Linked DNA regions of Homo sapiens: regions 2, 3, 4, 5, 6 and 7 are each linked to region 1. The links are contacts of gene promoters, found by promoter capture Hi-C in blood cells and fetal thymus (Javierre and others, 2016). All regions are on one chromosome and are shown on one strand. The core of a region is centred on a gene start or on the middle of the fragment in contact, and the rest is flanking DNA. Distances in the headings are between cores, read along the strand shown. Region 1 holds the start of GMCL1 (germ cell-less 1, spermatogenesis associated). Region 2 overlaps TIA1 (TIA1 cytotoxic granule associated RNA binding protein). Region 3 overlaps NFU1 (NFU1 iron-sulfur cluster scaffold). Region 4 has its middle 6.9 kb from the start of C2orf42. Region 5 overlaps AAK1 (AP2 associated kinase 1). Region 6 overlaps C2orf42 (chromosome 2 open reading frame 42). Region 7 overlaps AAK1 (AP2 associated kinase 1).

The links. Contacts are between HindIII fragments. The CHiCAGO score rates a contact against its expected background, and 5 or more counts as called.
Region 2: a contact is called between a fragment that was not itself captured here and the fragment with the promoter of GMCL1 in region 1, in 1 of 17 cell types (fetal thymus). The highest score is 5.3, in fetal thymus.
Region 3: a contact is called between a fragment that was not itself captured here and the fragment with the promoter of GMCL1 in region 1, in 4 of 17 cell types (naive CD4 T cells, total CD8 T cells, naive CD8 T cells and 1 more). The highest score is 8.6, in naive CD4 T cells.
Region 4: a contact is called between a fragment that was not itself captured here and the fragment with the promoter of GMCL1 in region 1, in 2 of 17 cell types (fetal thymus and erythroblasts). The highest score is 5.4, in fetal thymus.
Region 5: a fragment that was not itself captured here is called in contact with the fragment with the promoter of GMCL1 in region 1 in 3 of 17 cell types (total CD8 T cells, naive CD8 T cells and total CD4 T cells); the score reaches 6.0 in total CD8 T cells.
Region 6: a fragment that was not itself captured here is called in contact with the fragment with the promoter of GMCL1 in region 1 in 2 of 17 cell types (neutrophils and naive CD8 T cells); the score reaches 6.7 in neutrophils.
Region 7: a contact is called between a fragment that was not itself captured here and the fragment with the promoter of GMCL1 in region 1, in 3 of 17 cell types (non-activated CD4 T cells, total CD8 T cells and total CD4 T cells). The highest score is 6.5, in non-activated CD4 T cells.

Annotation. Positions count from the first base shown.
Region 1 is chr2:69,828,398-69,830,915 of GRCh38, forward strand. GMCL1 (germ cell-less 1, spermatogenesis associated) reads left to right here and starts at 1,263. Exons shown (of 14, transcript NM_178439.5): 1 at 1,263-1,755. The coding sequence starts at 1,496. It overlaps LOC124906021 (a long non-coding RNA gene), which reads right to left and starts at 1,134. Exons shown (of 2, transcript XR_007086846.1): 1 at 1-1,134. RefSeq lists enhancers at 299-1,220, 615-704, 1,221-2,141 and silencers at 1,115-1,344, 1,725-1,804, 1,752-1,927. The HindIII fragment of the contact is 7,336 bases long and covers 1-2,518 here.
Region 2 is chr2:70,218,719-70,221,236 of GRCh38, forward strand. The region is part of intron 7 of TIA1 (TIA1 cytotoxic granule associated RNA binding protein); the gene reads right to left. Among named protein-coding and RNA genes, the nearest start is that of TIA1, 29 kb to the right of the region's middle. The HindIII fragment of the contact is 1,111 bases long and covers 706-1,816 here.
Region 3 is chr2:69,433,626-69,436,143 of GRCh38, forward strand. The region is part of intron 1 of NFU1 (NFU1 iron-sulfur cluster scaffold); the gene reads right to left. Among named protein-coding and RNA genes, the nearest start is that of NFU1, 2.6 kb to the right of the region's middle. The HindIII fragment of the contact is 4,427 bases long and covers 1-2,518 here.
Region 4 is chr2:70,196,682-70,199,199 of GRCh38, forward strand. No RefSeq gene overlaps it. Among named protein-coding and RNA genes, the nearest start is that of C2orf42, 6.9 kb to the left of the region's middle. The HindIII fragment of the contact is 1,775 bases long and covers 371-2,145 here.
Region 5 is chr2:69,468,742-69,471,259 of GRCh38, forward strand. It overlaps AAK1 (AP2 associated kinase 1), which reads right to left. Exons shown (of 22, transcript NM_014911.5): 22 at 1-2,518. Among named protein-coding and RNA genes, the nearest start is that of NFU1, 33 kb to the left of the region's middle. The HindIII fragment of the contact is 2,984 bases long and covers 1-2,518 here.
Region 6 is chr2:70,165,949-70,168,466 of GRCh38, forward strand. All of the region lies in intron 6 of C2orf42 (chromosome 2 open reading frame 42), which reads right to left. Among named protein-coding and RNA genes, the nearest start is that of C2orf42, 24 kb to the right of the region's middle. The HindIII fragment of the contact is 4,037 bases long and covers 1-2,518 here.
Region 7 is chr2:69,499,414-69,501,931 of GRCh38, forward strand. The region is part of intron 16 of AAK1 (AP2 associated kinase 1); the gene reads right to left. Among named protein-coding and RNA genes, the nearest start is that of SNORA36C, 19 kb to the right of the region's middle. The HindIII fragment of the contact is 548 bases long and covers 983-1,530 here.

The sequences.
Region 1 (2,518 bases), core at 13-2,512:
ATTTGGTAATAGCTAACAAAGTTGCAGATTTCGCAGCAAATTCACTTTTGGGAATCTGCTTGGTGAATCCATTGCACATGATGTTCATTGCTGCTCTGTAAGGCCGTTAAAGTAGAAATAACCTCTCTCACTAAGGAATGTAAAAACAAATATGGGTCAGTCATACAATGAGCAGTGAAAATTATCTAGCGATTGACCAAATGGATAAATCTTGAGAGTATAATTTTGAGAGAGGAGAAAGGTGCACAATGAGAGGTACAACTATGATTCCATTCCATGATATGTCTAAACATGCAAAAGAAAATATTATTTATGGGTATGCATATAAGGACATGCATGGACATGATATACAACATTCTCAGCACAGTGATTGCCACTGGGGAGGGAGACAGAATGAGATGGAGGAGGTACGCAGGGGCTTCTGCCTATATGTATTGTTCTATTTAAAAAAGAATGAATCATTGATTACACCTCAATAAAGCTGGGAGGAAAAAAGAATGAAAGCAAGTCTGATAAAATTTCAAGCTAGTGGTCGGTCCACAGGAATCTGTATTACTCTATTTGAAATATTTTCATTATTTTACTTAAAAAGTAACAGAAGGGAGTCAGGGAATGAACGCTGGCTGTCCGGAGTCCATCACAAGAGCTGCTACTACTCCAAGCAGACACTAGTAAATTTTGCTAGGGCCTCCTGAAGGCACTTTTGAGTCCAGACAGTCATGGTGCCAGACCCTATTCGGACATCCCACTGGCACTTGAGAGGAAAGGAAAGGAGTGCCGGGAACGTTCCCATAACTTAACGGGTTCCATTCACGTCTACAGCAGGGGAGGGCTCATGTTAAGGAAGCCCAGGAATCCAGCATATCGCCTCATCCTAGGGCCCCCTCTCACAGGAGGCCACGCCCAAGCAAGCAGAGCGTGGCCCCAGCAAGCGCCGAGCTCCCGCAAGGAGACCAAATAGCTTCGGGGTTTTGCCACTAGCTTAGCACAGGCCCATAAGCACCGGGGACTCAAGGCACCTTTGTAGAAACAATGAGTGACTGGAGTCCCAGGTCTTGCCACTACAGAGGCGCGTATGAACCACGGTTTAACACTACGTCTACGCCGAAGTTCGGGTTAGTCAGAGGCCACGCCCACCGCAGGCCCGAAAACACCAGCCTGCACTGGCGCGCCGGATTGTGCGCAGGCTCCACCTGCCACGCACGCACGCCTTGCCCCGCCCCTTCCGGAGGCTCGCCGTACGCATGCGCCCTCCGTCCCGCGCTTTGTTGCGAAAGCGAGGGGGCGAGGTGCTGCGGTGCTAGAGCGCGGCGCGACCGGACGCTGCGGGCGGGGAAGAGGATGGAGACTGTGGCGTCCGCTGCAACGGTTGGGGCTGCGCGTGAGAAGGTGGCGGTGTAGGCACCTGCGCTCGGGGAAGGCTGGCGGCGGCGGCCGAGCCATGGCGGGAGACCCCCTTCTCTGGGCTCCCTGAAGTCTCGGGGAGCCGTGACCCATGGGATCGTTGAGCAGCCGGGTGCTGCGCCAGCCAAGACCAGCCCTTGCCCAGCAGGCGCAGGGTGCCAGGGCGGGGGGCTCGGCCCGGAGGCCGGACACTGGAGACGATGCGGCGGGCCACGGATTCTGTTACTGTGCGGGCAGCCACAAGCGCAAGCGGAGCAGCGGGTCCTTCTGCTACTGTCACCCTGACTCGGAGACGGACGAGGATGAGGAGGAGGGGGACGAGCAGCAGCGGCTCCTCAACACCCCTCGAAGGTACGTGGGGGCACGCACCCGCGCGGACCCGGACCCGCACCTGTTGGGCCTGGGGCCGAGCCGGCGCCTCGTGCGCTTGCGGGGTGCAGCGCTCCCCAGCCTATGGAGAGGGGACGTGCCCTTGACAGGGTGAATGTGGAAGCCGGCCCGATGCGGGGCGGACTGGGGAGCGCCTTGGGAGACGCCAGGTGTTCCGCATTTTCAACCACAGACGCTTCCAGGGTGTTGTTACAGCCCCAAGATGAGGATGAGAAACGCCAAGCCCGAGCTCGCGTCTCGTTAAACCTTAGAGACGCCCGGCTGGCTGGCCTTCCCAGTCCACCTTTGCCCTCTCAAGTGGGTAGCCGCAGAGTAAGTTGTTTTGCATCCGGTTGCCTTAGTACAGACACTAAATGTAATCTCTGAAATAGGCACTCTTATTGTCGCCCACTCAGTGGAGGGTAAGTAATTGCACACAGGAGTTCTTGTTAATTGTAAAGGTGAAGTTTATCAATAGTGTACATTTGTTCCTAACTAGGAACAGAGTCTGTGCAAGTTTCTAGTAGTTGATGAAGTCGTTGACCGTGGATGTACTGTATGTAGGGCGGTGCTGCTGCAGCTTGTTTAACCCCTTTTTTTTTTTTTTTTGGATGAGTTGAAAGATGGAATATTGACTTGTGACCTGGAATGTAGTTTATAGGTAGAATATATGCTTACACAAACAATTTGGTTTTTCTGCTTTTGTTTTTAAAGGTTATTTGGTAGGGTCACACATGAAATTTTT
Region 2 (2,518 bases), core at 11-2,510, 390 kb after region 1:
CACCGCACCCGGCAAGAAGGCCATTCTTAGCGCTAAGAGGAGAATGGCTTAGGATAATGGGTAGTAAGGGGATAAAGATACTTTATGAAACTTGTGCAATATTCTAGATTTTTAAAAAGTGTTGGTGGCCAGGAGCATTGCAGTAGCAGTGAATGTAACTTAAACTCAAGGCCAAAATAATGGGGGCTGGAGGGGACACCACAAGCAAAAGGAGAGAAAAGATAACTCTTAGGTTCCTCTAGAGAAATTGGAAAGACAGCATTTATTGAAATGCGGAGAAAGACTAGGAAAGAAAAGGGGAACAGGTCTGAGGAAGAAACAAAAAGCTCCATTAAGAAAAAACTTTGAGATGCCTGTGAGACATATAAATGAAGACCATTTGTTAATAAATGTGGAACGCAGAGAAGTAGACTGAAGATACAAAATTCATGCAGACTAGAGAAAGAGCCTAGGACAGAGCCCTGAAAAACAGCAAAACTTGAAAAATGGGTAAAGGAATAATCACTAGCTAAGGTGACTAGGGAGGAGTAGCCAGTGATGAAGGAAGAAAGCCACAAAAGTGTATGGTCCAGGGAGCCAAGAAAACAGAGGTTAAGAGGTGACCTTGAAAATAGAGTAGCATTGGTACAAAGTGAGAGTAAAACCAGCTTAGAGTAGACTAAAAAGTAAATGGAGTGTAACTTTTGTGTGCACACATCAAAGGTAAGCTTAATCTACTACTGAAGGAACAGGCAAATTCAAGGCCTTTCTTGAAATATGAAAACGAAATGCTTTAAAAAAAAATTAAATAGGGTCTTATTCTGTCATCCAGGCATGATCACAGCTTACTGTAGCCTTGAACTCCTTGGGCTCAAGTGATACTCCCACCTCAGCCTCCTAGTAGCTAGGACTATAAGCATGCACCAACAAGGTTGGCTGTTTTTTTTATTTTTTTAATTTCTTTACTATGGTAGGAACAGCCTTTACTGGTTGCAACAGGCAATGGGAGGGATTCGGGGTCCACAGACTAGGTCGCCAGGCTTTTTTTTTTTTTTTTTTTTAATGGAGACAGGGTCTTGCTGTTGCCCAGGCTGGTTTCTAACTCCTGGGCTCAAGCAGTCCTCCTCCTGCCTTGGCCTCCCAAAGTTCTGTTATTACAGGAATGAGCCACTGTGCCTGGCAGGAAATGCACATTCTTAAAAAGAAACAAATATTATCACCCCAACCAGTCCGAACTCCATGAGACGCTTAACTAATGTTATGTGTTGAATTGTGTCCCTCAAAACGATATGAAGTCCTATACCCTGGTATCTGTGAAATATGGCCTTATTTGGAAACAGGGTCTTTGCCGAAGTAATTAAGATGAGGTTATACTGGATTAAGGTGGGCCCCAAATCCAATGACTCAAGTCCTCATAAGAAGTAAAGATCAGACTGGGCACGGTGGCTCACACTTATAATCCCAGCACTTGGGAGGCCGAGGCAGGTGGATCATGAGCCCAGGAGTTCGAGACCAGCCTGGACAACATGACAAAATCCTGTCTCTACAAAAAATAGAAAAATTAGCTGGGCATGGTGTTGCAACACCTGTAGTCCCAGCTACTTAGGAGGTTGTGATGGAAAGATCACCTAAGCCTGGGAGGTCAAGGCTGCAGTGAGTTGTGATTGTGCCACCACACTCCAGCCTGGGTGACAGAGTGAGGTCCTGTCTCGAAAAAAAAAGATGATGATTATATGGATACACAAAGAGAGAAGATGGTCATGTGAAGATGAAGGCAGAGATTGGAGTTATACAGCTACAAGCCAATGAATGCCAAGAATTACCAGCAACCACCAGAAGCTTGGAAGAAGCAACAAAGGATTCTTCTACAGAGCCTTCAAAAGAGCATGGACATGCTGACACCTTGATTGTGAATTTCACGCCTCCAAAACATTGAGAAAATAAATTTTTGTTGCTCTAAGCCATCCAGTTTATGATACTTTGATACAGCTCCTCAGGAAAAAAATAAAACTACTCACTCAAAAAAGTGGAAAAAAAACAGAGATGTATCTATGTTGGTGGTTGTGAATGGGAGATAAAGTAGAAGCATATGCAAACAACTCTTGAGAATTATAGCCAAGAAATGGGGATACAGTTAGGGAAGGGATGTGAGGATAAACAGTGGTTTTGATTAAGAGATACTAGATGGCCAGGAACGGTGCCTCATGCCTATAACCCCACCACTTTGGGAGGCCAAGGCGGGCGGACTGGTGGAAGCCAGGAGTTCGAGGCCAGACTGGGCAACAAAGTGAGATTGTTCCTACAAAAAAATATATATATATATTTTTGAGACGGAGTCTCACTCTGTTGCCCAGGCTGGAGTGCAGTGGCATAATCTCAGCTCACTGCAACCTTTGCCTCCCAGGTTCAAGCGATTCTCCTGCCTCAGCCTCCTGAGTAGCCGTGATTACAGGCGTGTGCCACCATGCCTGGCTAATTTTTCTATTTTTAGTAGAGACGGGGTTTCACCATGTTGGTCAGGCTGGTCTCGAACTTCTGA
Region 3 (2,518 bases), core at 7-2,506, 390 kb before region 1:
CCATCACACCCGGCTAATTTTTATATTTTTAGTAGAGACAGGGTTTCACCACGTTGGCCAGGCTGATCTCCAACTCCTGACCTAAAGTGATCCACCTGCCTTGGCCTCCCAAAATGCTGGGATTACACAGCCAACGATCTTGATCACGCTTTTCGTGTTTTGTTTTGAGACAGGGTCTTGTTCTGTCACCCATGCTGGAGTACAATGGTGTGATCAGGGCTCACTGCAGCCTCAACATCCTAGGCTCAAGTGATTCTCCCACCTCAGCCTCCCAAGTAGGTGACACTACAGCTGTATGCCACCATGCCCAGCTAGTTTTTTTTTTTTTTTTTACTTCTGGTAGAGATGGATTACCACTATGTTGCTCAGGCTGATCTCCAGCTCCTGGCTCAAGTAATCCTCCCACTTTGGCCTCCCAAAGTGCTGGGATTATAGGCGTGAGCCACCATGCCCTGCCTTTTATATGCTTTTTGGATGGAAACATATTAACCCAGTGTTGTAACTTCACTTCACTTTTTTTTTTCTTTTTTTTTTTGTGAGACGGAGTCTTGCTCTGTCGCCCAGGATGGAGTGCAGTGGTGCGATCTTGGCTCACTGCAACCTCCGCCTCCTGGGTTCAAGCAATTCTCCGCCTCAGCCTCCCAAGTAGCTGGGATTATAGATGCCCACCACCATGCCCGGCTAATTTTTGTATTTTTAGTAGAGACAGGGTTTCACCATCTTGGCCAGGCTGGTCTTGAACTCCTGACCTCATGATCCACTAGCCTCGGCCTCCCAAAGTGCTGGGATTACAGGCGTGAGCCACAGCGCCAGGCCTCTAACTTTACTTCACTCTTACAGAGAAAACTTAATTGGCTATTTTTTATGGCTTTGACAAACTGAAAACAAAGGAAGAAAATGAAAGCAAATATTACTGGAAAAGGAAGTAAAAGGAGACTTTAATAGTAAAAATTCTTAAAATCCCAATGCAATTTACTTTAAAATCCGGTTTACTTGAAAATATCATCGCTATCCATTACCACTGCCACTTCATAGGAGCCATAGAAAAATTTTAAGTACAGGAGTCATTTATAATTGCCAATGGGTTCACTTTGCCCACTGTCCAGATACTGCTAATTCATCAAGACAGGGGATTTGCAATAAAGAGTTTAATTCACATGGAGCCAGCTGAAAGGGAGAGTGGAGTTTTAGTACTCAGTCTCTCTGGATCTGAGGCTAGGGGTTTTCAAGGATAGACTGGCAGGCCAGGGAACGGGTGTTGCTGACTGGTTGGGGATGCAATCATAGGGGTGCGGAAAATGATCCTCCTGAGTGCTCAGCCCGTTTGTGGGCGGGGCCACAGGACCAGTCAGAAATGCAAAAACCTGAAAAGGCTAATCTTAGGTTCTACAAGAGAGATGTTTTCTGCAGGAGTAATTGGGGAAGTTGCAACTCTTAGGACCGCCAGAATAATGGCTGGTAATCATTTACATCTACACCTTAGCAGAATTCAGGCTCCTCTCATCCTCCAAACCTGGTGGTCTTTCATTAGCTTTATAAAGGTGGTTTAATTTTGGGAAAGGGCTATTATCATTTAAACTATAAACTAAATGTCTCCCAAAGTTAGCTTGGCCCAAGCCCGGGAATGGGCAGTCTAGAGGTTAAAGGCAAAATGATGGTCAGTTAGAACGGTCTTTCACTGTCATAATTTTCTGTTAAAATTTTTTCCAAAGGCCAAAATTGTTTGTGATCATACACAAGATCACATTTATCTAATTATCTTCTGCTTAAAATAGGCAAGAAGCAACAGCGGCTGCCACATTTTTTTCTCTCTCTCACAAAACTGGAATTCTTCTCGTGGAAAAGAAAGAGTGGGCACCAATTAAGTATTAACAAAATACAGATGAACTGTTTACTACCTTCAATAATCTTTATATGCCATTGATAAGCAAAAGACTACTGGGATACTGTGGGACTGTAACCCATAGAGTTTCTTAGATGCTATTGGAGAGATAAAAGGATTGGCACCGAGGATTCAAGAGAACAATGGAATCAACACTGAATGGGAATCAAATAATCTGTGAAGTCCTGACTGCCACTCCCCACACTAGCTCCAGTGTTGATCACAGTAAGAGCTGTCACCACTTTATTTTGAGATGGAAATAATCTCGCTTTTCTCACTCTGTCACCCAGGCTGAAGTGCAGTGGCGTGATCTTGGCTCACTGCAACCTCCACCTCCCTGGTTCAAGCAATTCCCCTGCCTCAGCCTCCCAACTCGCTGGGATTACAGGCACACACCACCACGCCCAGCTTTTTTTTTTTTTTTTTTAGTTTCACCATGTTGGCCAGACTGGTCTCGAACTCCTGACCTCAGCCAATCCGCCCAGCTTGACCTCTCAAAGTGCTGGGATTACAGGCGTGAGCCACCACGCCCGGCACACCACTTTAAATTACATGAATCTATTACAGCACTCATGACTGTCATTATTTGTTAATATATTTTTCTTGCTAGACTGCATACTCATTAAGGGGAGAAAC
Region 4 (2,518 bases), core at 8-2,507, 370 kb after region 1:
ATGATCTTGATCTCTTGACCTTGTGATTCACCCACCGCAGCCTCCCAACGTGCTGGGATTACAGGTGTGAGCCACCACACCTGGCTTCAAATGATTATTTTAATCTGAGGTAATCCTGAGTGACCTCGGTGGAGGACACATTTTTTCAGAGAGGATTTTTGCATATCAAACTATATAAGGGATTCTTACTAATTGATAAAAAAAAACAGTGAAACAATCTAATGAAGAAATAGACAAAGGATATGAACAGATATCTCACAGAAATAAATACAAATGGCCAATTATCATGAAAAATGACTAACTTTACTTGTAATCAGGGAAATACAGCTAAAGAGATTATTTTACATTCATTGGATTGGCAAAAGATAAAAGCTTGATAACAACCAGCATTGGTGAAGGAATGTAAGGGAAATAAGAGCTTTCTGACATAAATGGTTGGAGCGTAAAACGGTATATGACCTTTTTTTTTCTGAGATGAAGTCTCGCTCTGTCAGCCAGGCTGGAGTGCAATGACCTAATCTTGCCTCACTACAACCTCCACCTCCCAGGTTCAAGCAATTCTCCTGACTCAGCCTCCCCAGTAGTTGGGACTACAGGTGTGCGCCACCACGCCTGGCTGATTTTTGTATTTTTAGTAGAGACAGGGTTTCACCATGTTGACCAACCACCATGTTGGTCTCGAACTCCTGACCTCGGGGGAATCCACCTGCCTTGGCCTCCCAAAGTGCTGGGATTATAGATGTGAGCCACCGCTCCCAGCTGGTATACAGCCTTTTTTTTTTTTTTTTTTTTTTTGATATACAGCATTTTAAGAGGGTAATTTGGCACTATACAATACAATTTTTACAATTCACATTTCCTTAACCCATTCAATTTCTAAGTATCCTAGAAAAACAGTATAGACATGCACAAAAACACATGAATTCTCTTTTTTTTTTTTCTTGAGACAGGGTCTTGTTTTGTTGCCCAGGCTGCAGTGCAGAGGCATGATCACAGCTCACTGCAGTCTCAACCTCCTGGACGCAAATGATCCTCCTACATCAGCCTCCTGAGCAGGTGGAACCACAGGCACATGCCACCATGCCTGGCTATTTTTTTTTAATTTTTTGTAGAGATGAGGTCTTGCTATGTTGCCCAGGCTGGTCTTGAACTCCTGGGCTCAAGTGATCTGCCCACCTCAGCCTTCCAAATTGCTGGGATTACAGGCATGAGCCACCGCACCCGGCCTGCCTCTGCCTCCTTGAACACTAATGATCCTGAGTTTTATCCACAGTCCTCATCTCACTTGGTGATCTCTACTCCAAGGGTTGAACTAACACGTAAACACAGACGATTCCCATTTCTATATCCAGCCCAGATCACCCTCCGAAATTCCATGTCATTACCTACTGGATATTTCTACCTGTGTCACCCACGTCCAATCTCACATATCGAAAGATAAGGCCAGGCGAGGTGGCTCACGCTTGTAATCCCAGCACTTTGGGAGGCCAAGGCAGGCGGATCACCTGAGGTCAGGAGTTCAAGACTAGCCTAGCCAACATGGCGAAACCCCGTCTCTACCCAAAATACAAAAATTAACTGGGTGTGGTGGCACATACCTGTAATCCCAGCCACTTGGGAGGCTGAGGCACGAGAATTGCTTGAACCCAGGAGGCGGACGGAGGCTGCAGTGAGCCGAGATCACACACTGCACTCCAGCCTGGGCAACAGAGTGAGACTCTGTCTGAAAAAAAAAAAGGTAAGACTAATTTGCTCTCATCTCCTGCTCTCTCACCATGATAGCTCCTGTCCTTACTCACTCTCACAAACATGCTTCTCTGCCTTCTCACATCCCAGTAACTAAGGATCCACCATGCATCTAACTGCTCATCAAGTCTGCAACCTGGAACACGTCTTGACTAAATACAAATTGGATCAGTGGCTCCCTGGGGTCTTCAGGATAAAAAAAGTTTAAATGACATCACATGGCTTAAAGAACTTGGCCCTGATTTGGTCCTTCAATGCCAGCTTTTTATTAACTTACTCCCAGTACTCCAGCTGGTAGTACTGTCCACACGAGGTGGAAAGCCATTTGGTCAAAACTAGATTGTTTGAAATAACAATTTAATTAACTCATTCATTAATCAATTAATTCAACATTTATTAAGCTTTATTATTTACCATGTACTGGATATTATGGCATTGAAGAAATAGTCACCAGGCCAGGAGCAGTGGCTCATGCCTGTAATCCCAGCACTTTGGGAGGCTGAGGCTGGCAGATCACTTGAGGGCAGGAGTTCGAGACCAGCGTGGCCAACATGGTGAAACCCCGTTTCTACTAAAAATACAAAAATTAGCTAGGCGTGGTGGCATGCACCTGTAATCCCTGCTACTTGGGAGGCTGAGGCAGAAGAATCACTTGAACCCTGGAGGTAGAGGTTTCAGTGAGCCGAGATTGTGCCACTGCACTCCAGCCTGGGAGACAGAGCAAGACTCTGTCTCAAAGAAAAAAAAAAAAAAAAAGGAAATAGTCATCAGT
Region 5 (2,518 bases), core at 11-2,510, 360 kb before region 1:
CTAGATTACATTTTGAGAACTAGGAAGTACCAAGGGGTGTGTGTATGTGCCCATATTCAGGGTTGGAGAGGATGGAAGAACATGTCTAACCCATCAAAATTATTTGTTAAAAAGTGGGTTTTTGGTCGAGAACCCATTTGGAAAACCTTCCAACTCAGAGCATATTCTATGACCTTCATGATGAGTACTGGGAAAATCAGACTTAAAATTCCAACAACTTTGAATAATTTACAAAAACAGTCACAAAAACACCAGAATATCAAGTTTGAAGGGAAAATTAGTCTCCTGTCCTTCAAAACAAGGACAAGAGCTATTTCCTATCTTTCTTTCAGCATCAACAGGCTTTGTAGGAATGGAAAAGTACATTTAAAGGGTTGTCCTGAGAAGGCCAAGTCCCTTAACCTTTCTATTCTTGTTAGAGGAGGTACAGTGTGGCTGAGGCGGAGAGCAACCACACTTTGCAACTCTCCAGGCCTGGCACTCTGAAGGGCAAAGAAATGCCAGAGAATATGGGGGAAGCCCAGACCTCCACATTCCCTTAAGGAATTCTGGTGGTGGCAGCACCAGAAACAAGGTAGTCGAGAGAAGGATAAATTCCAAATATACTAGAAACAGAAGGTAACCATTAAATCTTGTTGGCAGATAAAAGTCTTTTTTTGAGTATGTGAATGTGTTCTTACAGGGAAAATGTGTTTTCAGGGTGAACAGTTCCTTTATATGAAGGTAGCATTGTGTCAACAAGAAAACGTGTTTGAAGCAGTCTCTTTACTAGCATTGAAGGATTTATACTAACCTAACCACATGCCTTGACCCAGTTCCTTTGGTAACCAATGGCACGTCATAGCAGATACCCTGTGGCCATAGAGCTCAGTAAACACTGCCTGTTGTACCTCAGGGGCTAAAGCCCAGGGCCTGGCTTCATAGTCTGCACAGGGTCTTACTTATCATAGAGCCTAACGTAGGGTTTTGTTATAATTCCCTCAAACTGGATCATGCCTCTTTTTATTTTGGTTTCACACATAAAATTAAGCAAGAAGTCAAAACATACTTCTTTTTCTTGCTCTGATGTAGGACTGTGTGCCAGGTTAGGCACGTTGACACTTTCAATATGGGTAACTCCATATTAGTCTATTTTGAGGCTCCAAATTATGTAGATTTCAGCAAGAACTCACATGCTTCAGGGAAGAGAAGGAGTTCCTAAAATACCTGACAACTTGGCAACTATCCTCACCAGCTCCCTATTCACTTCCAAAGCAACCCAAAGTGCTGAATCATTTAGGATGGGTTTCCCCTGGAAACTCCATCTGATTGACATAGTGAGGGCCATCAGAATGCTCCCTACAGAATTAAAATCTGAAGACTTAAATGTCAGGCTGGATATTCCTTAATGAAATACATCACACAACACCAGAAGTTTACTTTTCCTCATACCAAAAACTGAAAGAACGGTTACAGGGAGTATCAAAGATATGATTCTTGCCAAAAACAGAAAACGAAGACTTGGAGCATTGAGAAGAAGCCTTCTCACATATAGTTAGTAAACAGAAAGCAAAATATCCCTTCACAAGAACTTGGAAATGCAGCAGCAATTGAAACGTAAAATTTTAGAACCAAACTGGGGAAATCAAGAGACGTACATCAAACTAATAATTACCATGACCTTCTAGCTCACATAACAAAATTAAGCATTTGGTTCCACCATATATTAGGTAGCTGCATTAAAACCCACGACTGGGAAATGAGGGACCTCATGGAAGCCAAAAATGGCCAGCTGTGCCTCTCAGGCCAATGAGGCAATTAAATGAGTGAGTTTTCTCACTGGGGATAAAATTATTCTTGCCAACACAAAATGTTTAATTAAGTTGGCCTGGGTATATTAGGGATTAAGTTAGAGGAGGGAAGCTGCAAACCTGCGCTCCATTTTACAACCCTGAGTCTGGTCATATCCAGTGTAGGCTGGCAGGCGTCTTATTCTCCTTGAGACTAAAACAGGGGTTTTACTCTCTCAGGTAGCCATGATTCATTAATATGTCCTCAGTGTGTAGCTATACTTTTCTTGTGCCCAGGTACTTATTGTCACTCAATACTGTGATTAAATCCTTTCTGCAAAAAAGTGGGTTTTCAGCTCAGGAAAAGAGCAACTTATTTTAAGTTATTTACATCTCTAAACATCATGCTCCCATTTGAACAGATAAAAGTCTTTATTCCCCTGTATGTTTACATAAGAAAGTTCTTTACAGACTTTTTTTTATACAATACTTGTGCAGCAATGTTCAAATTTCACGTTTTTACTGCATAAGATATCTTCATGTACAACTGTATGCTTTGTCTTCTTGGGAAGGACGCGTTAAAGACCTATGATAAACACACATCCACATGACAAAGGAGAGTGCAATAGGGCAGAGTAGAATACTCACAGGAAAAGAGTAAATTCAGGTCACTACATCAAAGTGTGAACCAAGAACGTGTCTTTAATTCTAGCAACTACCACCATTTGGTAACTTCTTTGCATAGGTTA
Region 6 (2,518 bases), core at 11-2,510, 340 kb after region 1:
GGCATGATCTCGGCTCACTGCAACCTCTGCCTCCCGGGTTCAAGCAATCCTCCTGCCTCAGCCTCCTGAGTAGCTGTGACTACAGGCGTGCACCACCACGCCTGGCTAATTTTTGTATTTTTAGTAGAGATGGGGTTTCACCATGTTGGCCAGGCTGGTCTCAAACTCCTGACCTCGTGATCCACCCACCTCGGCCACCCAAAGTGCTGGGATTACAGGCGTGAGCCACCGTGCCTGGCCAAAATTTTTTTTTAAATTAGCCAGGCGTGGTGGTATGCACCTGCTGTCCCAGCTACTTGGGAGGCTGAGGTGGGAGGATCAACTGAGTCGAGGAGGTTGAGGCTGCAGTAAGCCATGATCACGCCACTGCACTCCAGCCTGGGCAACAGAGTGAGACCCTCCCTCAAAAAGGAAAAAAAAAGAAAAGAAAAGAGAGGCCAGGCGTGGTGACTCACACCTGTAATCCCAGCACTTTGGGAGGCCGAGGTGGGTGGATTACCTGAGGTCAGGAGTTCGAGACCAGCTTGGCCAACATGGTGAAAACCCATCTCTACTAAAAAAAAAAAAAAAAAAAAAAATTAGCTGGGCATGGTGGTGTGTGCCTGTAATTCCAGCTACTCAGGAAGCTGAGGCAGGAGAATCGCTTGAACCCAGGAGGCAGAGGTTGCAGTGAGCCGAGATCATGCCACTGCACTCTAGCTTGGGCAACAGGGTGAGACTCCACTGAAAAAAAAGAAAAAAGACAATGAAAAAACAAACCAACACAGTAGACCCTTGTCATCCACCAAGTATAACATTTCAAATCCGCAAATTTTAAAAAGACCAACACAGCACAGACTTTCCCCCTTAAAGGGTATGCGAAGTAAGATGGGATGAGAACAATGAGGCCGAGGTGGCTGCCTCCACTTGATTCCCTTTTGCTCGCTATCCCCAGGTTCTTGCTATTTGCATTCATGTCTAAGCAAACTAATGACATGCTCTCTCACCCGATGGTCAGCACCATGAATGCTGAGGGACTACAAGTTAGGACACTGCTTACCCAGCAAGCATCTGTCTTTCTCTCTGAATATGACCTCAAGGCAGGTAAAATACTTGAAAGTACTTAACCAACCTCTTAAAGAACCTTGCGGCCAGGCACAGTGGCTCACACCTGTAATCCCAGCCCTTTGGGAGGATGAGGCAGGTGGATCACCAGGTCAGGAAATTGAGACCATCCTGGCTAACATGGTGAAACTCCATCTCTACTAAAAATACAAAAAATTAGCCGGGCATGGTGGCATGCGCCTGTAGTCCCAGCTACTTGGGAGGCTGAGGCAGGAGAATCGCCTGAACCTGGGAGGCGGAGGTTGCAGTGAGCCAAGATCACGCCACTGCACTCCAGCCTGGGCGACAGAGTGAGACTCTGTCTCAAAAAAAAAAAAAGAAAAGAAACTTGTCAGACATTAGGTCAACAAAAAGAGTTAAGGGGAGGGGGTCAAGTGAGTTCAGTCTTTCTTAAAAATTCTGTCCAGACCAGGTGTGGTGGCTCACACCTGTAATTCCAACACTTTGGGAGGCCTAGGCAGGCGGATCACTTGAGGTCAGAAGTTCGAGACCAGCCTGGCCAACATGGTGAAACCCTGTCTCTATTAAAAATACAAAAATTAGCCAGGAGTGGTGACACATGCCTATAATCCCAGCTACTCAGGAGGCTGAAACACGAGAATTTCTTGAGCCTGGGAGGTGGAGGTTGCAGTGAACTGAGATTGTACCACTGCACTCCAGCCTGTGTGACAGAGCAAGACTGTCTCAAAAAATAAAAAAGAATTAACTTCAAAAAGGTAAAACACACACACTCATAGTCAAGGAGCGAGCTGATGGAAACCTGGACAAAGGTGGTAGTAATGGAGATGGTAAGATGGAATAGAGGGTGGTACAGGAATGGGATGGAAGAGGGAATAGGATGGGATGGAAGAGGACTACAAGTGTTTAGCTTATAGTATTATCAATATTCTGTTTTCTGGGCTGGGCACGGTGGTTCACGCCTGTAATCCCAGCACTTTGGGAGGCCGAGGTAGGTGGATCACCTGAGGTCAGGAGTTCAAGACCAGCCTGGTTAACATGGTGAAACCCCATCTCTACTAAAAATACAAAAAATTGGCCAGGCATGGTGGTGCGTGCCTGTAATCCCAGCTACTTGGGAGGCTGAGGCAGGAGAATTGCTTGAACCTGGGAGGTGGAGATTACAGTGAGCCAAGATCACGCCACTGCACTCCAGCCTGGGCGACAAGTGATTCACCTACCTCAGCCTCCTGAGTAGTTGGGACTACAGGCCTCTGCCACCATGCCCAGCTATAGGATCCTTTTTTTTTTTTTTTGAGATGGAGTCTCACTTAGTCACCCAGGCTGGAGTGCAGTGGTGCAATCTCAGATCACTGTAAGCTCCACCTCCTGGGTTCACGCCATTCTCCTGCCTCAGCCTCCCGAGTAGCTGGGACTACAGGCACCCGCCACCACACCTGGCTAATTTTTTTGTATT
Region 7 (2,518 bases), core at 7-2,506, 330 kb before region 1:
CTGGGACTTTCACTTCCCCCAACCTGTGTGTATAGTTCTTCGCAACTTGATTCTCCGTATAGATTAGAATGAGCACCACTGCAATCATGATACAGAACTGTTCCATGAAACCAAAGACCTCCTCATTCTACTCCTTTGTAGTGACACCCACCACTTATTCCTGTTACTATTCTTTGGAAACCACTATTCTGTTCTCAGTCTCTATAATTTTGTTATTAAAGTGGGTTTTAAACTAAGTTTCTTTAAAGGTAGAAGGAGGAAAAGAAGGATAAAATAACTGCTTTTAAGTCCTTGAAATATTTTAAAACGACACAATGAAACATATTTAAAAGAAAAAAAGCAAACTGCAAAACTGAATATACGGTGTAAGTCATATTTGAAAAAAATTTATATGCAGAAATAAAATTCTAGATACAAATACTGTAAAATGTCAGCAAATGCTCTTCTCTCAAGGTGGGGTTATAAGATTTTATTTTCTTTACTTTGGGCCTTATTCATTTCTCCACATTTTTATAAATGAACATGTGTAAATTATACACAGGAAAACATATGAAAATAAAGAGGCACCATGTGAAGTTTTAAATGTTTGCCTGTTTCTCCTCCAATGTATAGACACAGTCTGTCATTTTTGCAGCTTTTACCATACAAATGTTTAATATAGCCCCGTGCCATCCTCCCGAACCCATTATGACATTTCCTGCTTAGTTTCTCCTTTGATCAATCAGAAGGTTTAAAATCTGTAAACAGTCTGAGTTCAGTTAGAAAATTTATAGAAAATGATGTCATCTTGCCCTTTGTACAAACGAGAGCAAATGAGTTCCTGGGATCTAGATGTAATTTTCTTTCATTTGTAAAGAATGAAGGTGTCACAGAAAAGAAACATTTACACTGCAAACAAGAGAGAGGGGAAAATATCAAATGTTGATAGAAAAAGACCAGATAAACTGAGGAAACTATGAAGACACTTTTTAATGTTTGTAAAAGCTTAGTGTTGCTGGTTTATGAGATTCCTGAGATGTGGTTATAACTACAGTTTTTGAGCTGGGCTACAGGTACAAATCTCTATTCTGTCATTCTCCAGCTGTGCCCTTGGGCAGGTGGTCTTTGTGAGGATCACCTGAGATAATGAGCAAGAAAAGTGCTTACCCAGTGGGTTTAACATGCCTCAAGTGCTTGATACATGTTCAATGTTATTACTGTCATAACTTTACTCAAATATGTGTTTGTAGCTGTGCCTTTAAGTCCCTTAAAATATATATATATATATATATATATATATATATATACACACACACACACACACACACACACACACACACAACCATTTGCAGCCTTTGGAGTAAATATAAAGTAGTGGAAAGGCAGAAACAAAAACAAAATAAACCTCATTAAAAAACAGCTCATACAAACAGTGAAACATAACCATGTGTAATAGATGAAAACTAGGCATTAAAACTGGGGTTGGTAGGGTGAGTAGATGGAAAATGATCAGGGACCTCGATTGTTAACGCTGCTGAATCCAAGGTCCTAAGCTTTGGCACAAAGCAACTCTTCTTATTCATTCAACACGTCTGTATGGAGCCAAACATCGTGCCAAATTCTGGGACTCAGCAGCAAAGAAGACTCTCAGGGCTTATTCTGTGACCCTCTTTCCAGACAAACTATATCCTACCCAGGTCCATGGCTAATCATCATTTTGATGTTCTATTTCAAAGACAACAGTCAATGCTTTACACATTTGATATGTTTGGTCAACTATGTGGCACATCAAACTTCAAGCAGCATGAACTGGTTTTGGAACATTTTCAAATTTCACCAAAATATCAATATACTTATACAATTTACACAAACAAAGCTAAAAGTGAAACAAAAATTTTTAACTACTTAATGATGAAAAGCATAACTCCAAAATAATAATGAGAATATCATACGAATATTTATGAGCTATGGTTAAGCTCCACAAAACCCCATTTTTTTTTTTACTAGGGAAATACACACTCATTAGAAAGCATTCTTAATAAACAGTGTAATCTTCAAAGGTTGAAGCGAGGCAACTGGAGAAAGAGGAAGGAGGACATTGGAATATTTTCACATGACAAAGCCTCCCTGAAGATTATAATTAGCCTCCCTCCCCACTTTTGTGCTGGGTGAAAATGACTGTCAAATTGTGAAGAAAAACTCACAGCCCAAGTACTTTATTTTTTAAAAAAGAATTTTAAAATATGTTACTATGTGTTCCTCTTAATATCACCAAATATAAGAAAAACAAGAAAATGGCCAGGCGAGGTGGCTCACGCCTGTAATCCCAGCATTTGGGAGGCCGAGGTGGGTGGATCACCTGAGGTCACGAATTTGAGACCAGCCTGGCCAATATGGTGAAACCCCATCTCTACTAAAAATACAAAACATTAGCTGGGCACGGTGGCGTGCAACTGTTGTCCCAGCTGCTTGGGAGGCTGAGACAGGAGAATTGCTTGAACCCAGGAGGCAGAGGTTGCAGTGAACAGATATCCCACCA